Regions from separate parts of the Homo sapiens genome. Here region 1 is linked to region 2. The links are contacts of gene promoters, found by promoter capture Hi-C in human tissues and cell types (Jung and others, 2019). All regions are on one chromosome and are shown on one strand. The core of a region is centred on a gene start or on the middle of the fragment in contact, and the rest is flanking DNA. Distances in the headings are between cores, read along the strand shown.

Region 1 (4,391 bases), core at 717-3,216, 260 kb after region 2:
TCCCCAAGGTAATGTGTTGAGATGGAGGGCCCCTAAATAAAGGTAACAATTTGACAGGCTTGTTTTTGACTCATTGATTTATTTAAAGACAGGGTCTCACTCCAGTTGCCAAGGGTGGAGTGCAATGGTGCCATCGGGGCTCACTGCAGCTCGACTTCCCAGGCTCAGGTGATTCTCCCACCTCAGCCTCCTGAGTAGCTGGGACTACAGGCATGTGCCACCTTACCTGGCTCATTTTTGTACTTTTTGTAGAGATAGGGTTTTGCCATGTTGCGTAGCTGGTCTTGAATTCCAAGGCTCAAGCAATCTGCCTGCCTTGGTCTCCCAAAGTGCTGGGATTACAGGAGTGAGCTACTACATCTGGCTTTTTTACTCATTTTAAAACCCTAAGATATATGTGGTTGTACTACTATAGGAGCAGTAAGTTTCACGCGTATGCAATAGATGCTAATGAGTAGCTATTTGGGTGTCAAGACAAGAGGAAGAGGCCCCACACAAATATCTGGAGAGGGAGAATGGAAGAGGTGACCTGGATTTTGGGCAGAGTGGGCCTTTCCTCAAGATGTTCTTTCCTGGTGCTGGCATTGTGGAATCAGGGTTTTTTTTTTTTTTTTTTTTTTTTTTTAAGACGGAGTCTCGCTTTGTCCCCCAGGCTGGAGTGCAGTGGCGCGATCTCGGCTCACTGCAAGCTCCGCCTCCCGGGTTCACGCCATTCTCCTGCCTCAACCTCCTGAGTAGCTGGGACTACAGGCACCCACCACCACGCCTAGCTAATGTTTTTGTATTTTTAGTAGTGATGGGGTTTCACTGTGTTAGCCAGGATGGTCTCGATCTCCTGACCTCGTGATCTGCCCTCCTCAGCCTCCCAAAGTGCTGGGATTACAGGTGTGAACCACCACGCCCGGCCAGAATCAGGTCTTTTAATGTGCTTGAGGGTGCAGAGAGGAAGGCTCGACTGGCTCACTGTTTATTGCTCTCCCTTCATAATGGCCAACTTTGGCTTTAAAGAGATTGGTCCCTTTATTCCTACTCTGATTTGGCCTCCAAAGACCTAACATTAATTCTTGTGGATTGATTGATTGATTGATTTTGAGACGTAGTCTAGCTCTGTCACCCAGGCTGAAGTGCAGTGCCACGGTCTTGGCTCACTGTACCCTCTGCCTCCTGGGTTCAAGCGATTCTCCTGCCTCAGCCTCCCGAGTAGCTGGGACTACAGGTGCGTGCCACCATGCCTGACTAATTTTTATACTTTTTAGTAGAGACGGGGTTTCACCTTGTTGGCCAGGCTGGTCTCGAACTCCTGACCTCAGGTGATCTGCCCAAAGTGCTGGGATTACAGACATGAACCACCGTGCCCAGCCCTAACATTCATTCTTATTCCCCACCCCCACAAACCTTAGGCGCTCTTCTGTTACCACCGCAGCATTAATTTGTGTCAACATTGATGGCGCCCTCCATCCTGCTAGAGAAGGGCATGATGTCTGCTAGGATTGCTCTGGGCTGCTAGTCTAGCCTATGGGTCCCTGCCCTGGTTTGGAGGTAATTGCCAATCTGCTATAATGTTTACTCTGCAGTGGATTTTCTTTCTGCCAGTTATATCCCATTTCTTTTTAAAGAAAATTTCCTTTTTAAATTTAAAGTACATTTAATTTTTTGAGACGGGGTCTTGCTCTGCCACCCAGGTTGGAGTGCAGTGGCACGATCTCAGCTCACTGCAACCTCTGCCTCCTGTGCTCAAATGATCCACCTCAGCCTCCCAAGTAGCTGGGACTACAGGCACCTGCCACCTAGCCCAGCTAGTTTTTTGTATTTTTCTGTAGAGATGGGGTTTTGCTCTGTTGCCCAGGCTGGTCTTGAACTCCTGGGCTCAAGCAATCCACCCTCCTTGGCCCCCCCAAAGTGCTGGCATTACAGGCGTCAGCCATTGCACCCAGCCTTATATCCCATTTTTTAAGGATGACCCTTTGAATCACTGCAATTAATATTTTTCCCAATAGATAAATATGAGCTTGTTTTAATAGTTAAAGTATGTTGCATTGAAGCTTTTCCTGCCGTTGTACACTATAGGCAGGTATGCTGTTGGAAATGAATGAATGGGCCTAGAGAAGTGCACAGCAAAAGGCCAGCCAGTAAACTGGTAATTGTATGTAAATTGCAGGTAATTAATTTATCAAGAATATCTCTCCAGAGGGACTGTGCTATAATGACTCTACCACCTAGCATTGCTTCAACCTGAGCTCCCATTTTTTAGATGTCGGAATCTGTGCTCCCTGTGGTGAGGGGTGAGGGGGTTCCTGTATCCATCAGGTTTCCTAGTGAGTAGAACAGGAGGATTTGCACTATTAAAAGTCATATTGCAGGGTGGTTTGGAGAGGAGTTATATGCCTAGTCTTGTTGCTTGTTTGATGTTTTTTCTCACATAACGCTCTCTCAAGTCTGCTTTAAGTGCTTGATGTTTAATGATAAAATAGTATCTCCACTGAAGCAAACCTATGAGGAGACCTCTGGATCAGAGAGGGTTTCTAATTTCAGCCAGTTCGAGTTTTTTTATGGTTGGTGCATGATGTCGGAGAGGAAGCCTGACTGAATCCCTGCTCAGGTGTCTTCTCTGGGGTTGTCACACCCCAGGGTCTGAGCTTCAGTTCTGGAAGTTTGATTTTTGTCAGTGTAGCCAGATTGAGCGTCTTGGGACTCTTAGAGTCCCAGTCATAGGAGATTGATGGTAAAACTCAGGATACCAGCTCGTTGCTTACAGTGAGAAATAGAACTTCCAGGTGCACTCAGACCTGGGTTGTCAGACTCCATCCTTCTATGAAAAATCCACCGTAAAAGCCAACTAGACCAACCTGGCGTTGGAGCAAGGTGACTTAAGTGGATAATCTTACTGTGTCTGTTGGGGCTGTGATACATGTTGATCATGGCCTCAAATCATGTTTTCCACCTGGGCTATTGGCCAGGACTGCTCCCTTCTGTCTCCTCTTTCCTAGATGGAGATGGAGACATGCTGATAAGTTTTAGGGGCTTCTCCAGAGTCTCTTCCTTCTGCAAAGCAGTCTTTTGGATAAAATTAATCAGATTGTTGCTGTGACCAGGCTAATAAAATAGATTTTTTTTTTTTTACCATTTCATAAGAATTTGATTGTATTTTTTGGTTTGTAAGTGATACAGTTATGATTTTCAGAGTTCAGTGGCCGTGATTGGCCTTTACTTGGCTTACATCCATCATGCATTGTCCACCCTCCCCACTCCCCAGTCTTGGCAGCCTGTGGAGCAGAGCACACTCAGCCACTCTCTTTGGCAGACAGAACATTCCATAATGTTCATGGGCTATGTGCTTTTCCTTTGGTGCTCTCTTGGGTTGGGTGAGCTCCCTTTACACTTTATTTTCCAAATTAGGTGTCAGTGTTGCACAGCCTCACAGTTGACATCAGCTGCTTTCGACTATGTAACTTTTTTTCAGCTCTTTGTGCCTTGAGTTTTAAAAAGGATCTTTGTATAGTTTTTTCCTGCCTGAAAATATAATAATAAAAACTAGCATTGATAGAACTCCCGTTACGCCAGGCACTGTGCTAAGATTTCACACATATCATCACATGTAACCCTCACGGCGCACTGTGGGGGAGGCATTATTGATACTTCTATTCTCTAGATGAGGACACGTGAGACATACAGCACTTACAAACCTGTGTTAGGTCACACAGCCGTTGCAGGGATTCAAACGCACGTTTGTGTGACACTCCAGCTCTTAACTGTGGTGCTGTGTCACTGGCCAGTAACTAACTGGAGAAGGGTGGCACCTCAGCATAGGATAGGAGATTTCTTTTAGGGAGAAGCCTTCACCACTTGTTTCTGGTGTGTGTGTGTGTGTGTTTATACTTCCAAGTACACTTTTATAAATATTCATTAGGGCTTTGGTTCTTATTTTACCTCTATTCCATTCATAGGAAAAAAATATTTAATACTGCCCATTTCTCTTAAGAGCAACATGCAGAAGCCTTTTTTTTTTTTTTTTTTTCAAATTTTCTGTGGCACATGTATGACATGCTCTAAGATCCTGCACACTGCTTGGTAGAATTCCCTGAAGCTGCCCTGCCTGTTCTGCTGATTGTGTGCATAATCACAAATTAACTTCCTCCCATGATCAGACTTGACCTCATCTACCCGTTCTGCACAAAACATTATGCACCCCTACTGTGCCAGACTATTGCTAGGTGTTGGGGTGGAATTCAGACATCCAAAGGGGTAGGTAATGACCTGTACACCGTGGCACTTGGTCTACTTGAGGTTTGTATAGATGCTCTGGTTACTTGGAGGATGGAATGAGTTTCTGCCTTTGAAACCTGTTACAGAAGGGAGAGGGTATTAAACTGACTTTCAACGGGTATTATGTA
Region 2 (4,495 bases), core at 610-3,109:
TACCCTAAATGATTACTGACGTTTATAACAAAGTAGTGGGATAGAAGGGGATTTCTACTTCTTTGGGTTTTTTTCTTTGATTTTCTACAATGAACTCGTATTATTTCCTAGTAAGAATGTAAATCAAGAGACAACTTTTTATTCCATGGGAGGAATTATCAATGTCAAGAGTCAAAACAGATAAGAACTGTTAAATAGTGCTTATTGGCTGGGCGCGGTGGCTTATTGCCTGTAATCCCAGCAGTTTGGGAGGCTGAGGCAGGCGAATCATGAGGTCAGGAGTTCGAGACCAGCCTGGCCAACATGGTGAAACTCTGTCTCTACTAAAAATACAAAAATTAGCTGGGCGCGGTGCCGCCTGCCTGTAATCCCAGCTACTCGGGAGGCTGAGACAGGAGAATTGCTTGAACCCGGGAGGCAGAGGTTGCAGTGAGCTGAGATCACGCCACTGCACTCCAGCCTGGGCGACAGAGCAAGACTCCGTCTCAAAAAAAAAAAAAAAAAATAGTGCTTATCATATTCAGCAAAAAGCAAGCAGCTTGTGGTCACAGTAAGAGCAGTTTTGGTATGAATAAATATGGTTTAAAATTGTTTTTCAAAAAACAAACATAAAAAACCAAAACCCAAACATTTCTCAGGAATTTTGTGAGGACGAATTTTGTGTGTGGAGAAAACGGACAAATACATTTCCCCATATATTTAAATGCTCAAAAGTTCACTCAGGTGCTCTCACCAGGCAATTACTATGACAAGTGATCACGTGCGAAAATACAGAGAATCTGGCTCGTTTTAAAGTGCAGGAGAAAAGCAAGGCCTTACTGTTTCTGAATTTGCTGTGTGTGTGTGTGTGTGTGTGTGTGTGTGTGTGTGTGTGTATGAGAAGATGGGATCTGGCTCTGAAGCGCAGACAGGAGTGCAGTGGCAAGATCGTAGCTCACCGCGGCCTCAAACTCCTAGATTCAAGAAGTGATCGGCCGGGCGTGGTGGTTCACGCCTGTAATCCCAGCACTTTGAGAGGCCGAGGTCAGGAGATCAAGATCATCGTGGCTAACACGGTGAAATCCCGTCTCTACTAAAAATACAAAAAATTAGCCGGGCGTGGTGGCGGGCGCCTGTAGTCACAGCTACTCGGGAGGCTGAAGCAGGAGAATGGCGTGAACCCGGGAGGCGCAGCTTGCAGTGAGCCGAGATCACGCCACTGCACTCCAGCCTGGTCAACACAGAGAGACTCCGTCTCAAAAAAAAAAAAAAAAAAAAGTGATCCTCCCGCCCCAGCCTCCGGAGTAGCTAGGACTACAAGCATGCACCACTGTGTCTGGCTTTTTTCTTTTTTTCTTTTTTTTTAAGTTTTCTGTAAAGACGGGGTCTTGCTACCTTGTCCAGGATGGTCTCAAACTCCTGGGCTCAAGCGATCTTCCTGCTTTGGCCTCCCAAAGTGCTGGGAATACAGGCATGAGCCACCGCGACAGGCCATGTTGCTGAATTTGGAAAGTGGAGCAAAGAATCATGCAAAAAATTAAGAAAACCAAAACGCAACCAAGGCGAATTCAATTGCATTTTTTTTTCCCAGCGACACTTTCTGAGACACGAACCTCTCTCTTCGGCGAACCTATTCCAGGGCGCCCTTCATTTTCATTTCTTGAAACAACAGCCTTGCAGGCCGAGCCGCTGTTCCCGAGAACTCGGCAGCCACAGGGAGCAGGTTGCATGGACCCAGGAGCGCGAGAGGCCCTGCTCTGCCAGCTTCGGCCAATCAGAGGCCAGGGAGCGGTGGGCGTGACGTGGGGCGGTGCGCGGGGCTGGGCGGCGGCTGAGGCGCGTGCTCTCGCGTGGTCGCTGGGTCTGCGTCTTCCCGAGCCAGTGTGCTGAGCTCTCCGCGTCGCCTCTGTCGCCCGCGCCTGGCCTACCGCGGCACTCCCGGCTGCACGCTCTGCTTGGCCTCGCCATGCCGGTGGACCTCAGCAAGTGGTCCGGGCCCTTGAGCCTGCAAGAAGTGGACGAGCAGCCGCAGCACCCGCTGCATGTCACCTACGCCGGGGCGGCGGTGGACGAGCTGGGCAAAGTGCTGACGCCCACCCAGGTACACCGGGCGGCGGGCGTGCAGCGAGCGGCACGGCGCGGAGGCCTGTGCCGGCCTCCTGGGTGGGACCCAGCGGAGACAGGGCCAGGGGCGGTGGGGAGGTTCAGCCTGCGTGTGTCGAGGCCCCCCCAGGCCAGAGGTCCCGGGGTCCATGTCCCATGCCTGGGGGCCACCCCGAGCACCGGGAACCCGGCCTGTGGCGTGGCCAGGCAGGTTCGGCCTGCGGCAGAAATTCATTCACTTTTCCCGGGCTTCAGACCCAAGAGGGACCTAGGTTCGGAAACAGGCCGGATCCCCCTCTCCCCCCACAGGCCAGGGCGCTGGAGAGGGACGTCGCCGGGACAGAGTAGGCTGTGGCTGCCCGGACGCCCCCAGAGCTTCCCCTAGGGCCTCAGCATTTTAGGCCTGGTTTTGGAGGGCTGAAGCCTCACCCGAGAGCCTGTGACGCATTATGTAACTGGCGATGAGCGCGCCGGCCGATTTCTCCTTTGTTAAATGGGTCGAGAGCGTCCAGCCGGTACGCTGGAGGGCAACGGTTTAGTTTTGGTCTTTGACCTCCCACGCCCACGGCTGGGGCTGCCGAAAGTGAAGAAACTAGATTTGCAGACGCCACTGCTAGTTGGTTATGAAGCTCCGGGCAACAGCGTAAAATAAACTGCCCCGACCTTACATTGTTTTGGATGTTCACAGAATTTAATTTTTTTGGATGTTTAAATATGTAGTGCCCATCTAACACAGCCTCCCTTTTCCTGCTCCCTGCCCGCCTCTCATCACCTTGGCTTTCTCCTTTTCTTTGCACTTTGAAACGTACAGTTAATGCAGATTTCACTTCAGCAGGCTCCAGGTAACCTCCTGATCACCAAATCCAGAAACGCTGTGATTCCGGACAGACAATGTAAGGGTGTCGTTGAGAGGGGACTCAGTGCCAGGGTTGGAATCCCAGCCTTATCTGTTTCTCTTAATAGTGTGCTGGGATACTAGCCCCATGGTGTTGTTGGGACTGAAATAATATACAGCCTGGGCAACATAGCAAGACCCCAACTCTACAAAAAAAAATTGGCCAGGTGTGATGGTGTGAGCATGTAGTTCCCAGCTGCTCAGGAGGCTGAGGTGGGAGGATCGATCGATTGAGCGCTGGAGGTTGAGGCTACAGTGAGCCTTGATAGCGTCACTACACTCCGGCCTGAGTGACAGAAGGAGACCTGGTCTCAAATAAAATACATAACGTATATAAAACTCCAGCTCCTGGCTCTTACAGTCAATACAGGGTCATTGATTTTATTAAAAATCTATTCTGTTTTGTCTTTGGAGAGTCTGAGATCAAAGAAAGAGTATTGGTTTCTTCAGCATTTCTTGTTTTTGAGACAGAGTCTCACTCTGTCGCCCAGGCTGGAGTGCAGTGGGGTGATCTTGGCCGCCTGCAGCCTCTGCCTCCCCAGCTCAAGTGATCCTCCCACCTCAGCCTCCCGAGTAGCTGGGATTACAGATTCCCGCCACCATGCCCAGCTAATTTTTGTAGTTTTAGTAGAGGCAGGTTTCACCGTGTTGGCCAGGCTGGTCTCAAACCCCTGACCTCAAGTGATCCTCTCTCCTAGGCCTCCCAAAGTGCTGGGATTACAGGCGTGAGCCACCACACCCAGCCAGTTTCTTCAGCATTTCTGACTTTTTTACTGCAAACTGGTTCCTTCATACAGGTTAAGAATAGACCCACCAGCATTTCGTGGGATGGTCTTGATTCAGGGAAGCTCTACACCTTGGTCCTGACAGACCCGGATGCTCCCAGCAGGAAGGATCCCAAATACAGGTGAGAGGTGAGAAAGACGAGAAGAGCAGGTCATGCAGAGATGAGTTATCGGGTGTAAGTCCCTTGCTGGACACAGAGAAGTAGACCTGGTTTGGGATGCCCCCACCCATGCTTAAGCCAGAGAGTGCCTTTCCTGCCCTTTTGCCCCCCTACAGCAGGTGTCTGTAACTCACAGCCGAGAGCCATATCCACCTGTGGCCTGTTTTTATACAGCCCCATGAGCTAAGAATGGTTTTTACATTTTTATTTAGTTATTTATTTTTTATTTTTTTGAGACAGAGTCTCAGTCACCCAGGCTGGAGTGCAGTGGCATGATCTTGGCTCACTGCAACCTCCACCTCCCAGGTTCAAGTGATTCTCATGCCTCAGCTAACCGAGTAGCTGGAATTACAAGCGCCCACCACCATGCCTGGCTAATTTTTGTATTTTTAGTAGAGACGGGGTTTCACCTTGTCCAGGCTGCTCTCGAACTCCTGACCTCAGGTGATCTGCCCGCCTCAGTCTCCCAAAGTGCTGGGATTACAGGTGTGAGCCACTATGCCCGGCCTGGTTTTCACATTTTTAAATGATTGGTGAAAAATTGAAAGAAGAATAGTACTTTATGATGTGGA

Evidence for each region. Contacts are between HindIII fragments. The study calls those that stand out against the background at their distance.
Region 1: a fragment that was not itself captured here is called in contact with the fragment with the promoter of PEBP1 in region 2 in 1 of the 25 tissues and cell types used here (H1 embryonic stem cells).

Annotation. Positions count from the first base shown.
Region 1 is chr12:118,394,619-118,399,009 of GRCh38, forward strand. The region is part of intron 6 of SUDS3 (SIN3A corepressor complex component SDS3); the gene reads left to right. Among named protein-coding and RNA genes, the nearest start is that of SUDS3, 20 kb to the left of the region's middle. The HindIII fragment of the contact is 8,830 bases long and covers 1-4,391 here.
Region 2 is chr12:118,134,265-118,138,759 of GRCh38, forward strand. It overlaps PEBP1 (phosphatidylethanolamine binding protein 1), which reads left to right and starts at 1,860. Exons shown (of 4, transcript NM_002567.4): 1 at 1,860-2,080; 2 at 3,775-3,884. The coding sequence starts at 1,946. It overlaps LOC101928274 (a long non-coding RNA gene), which reads right to left and starts at 1,728. Exons shown (of 4, transcript XR_945409.4): 1 at 1,593-1,728. RefSeq lists an enhancer at 1,655-2,155 and a silencer at 2,148-2,237. The HindIII fragment of the contact is 8,253 bases long and covers 1-4,495 here.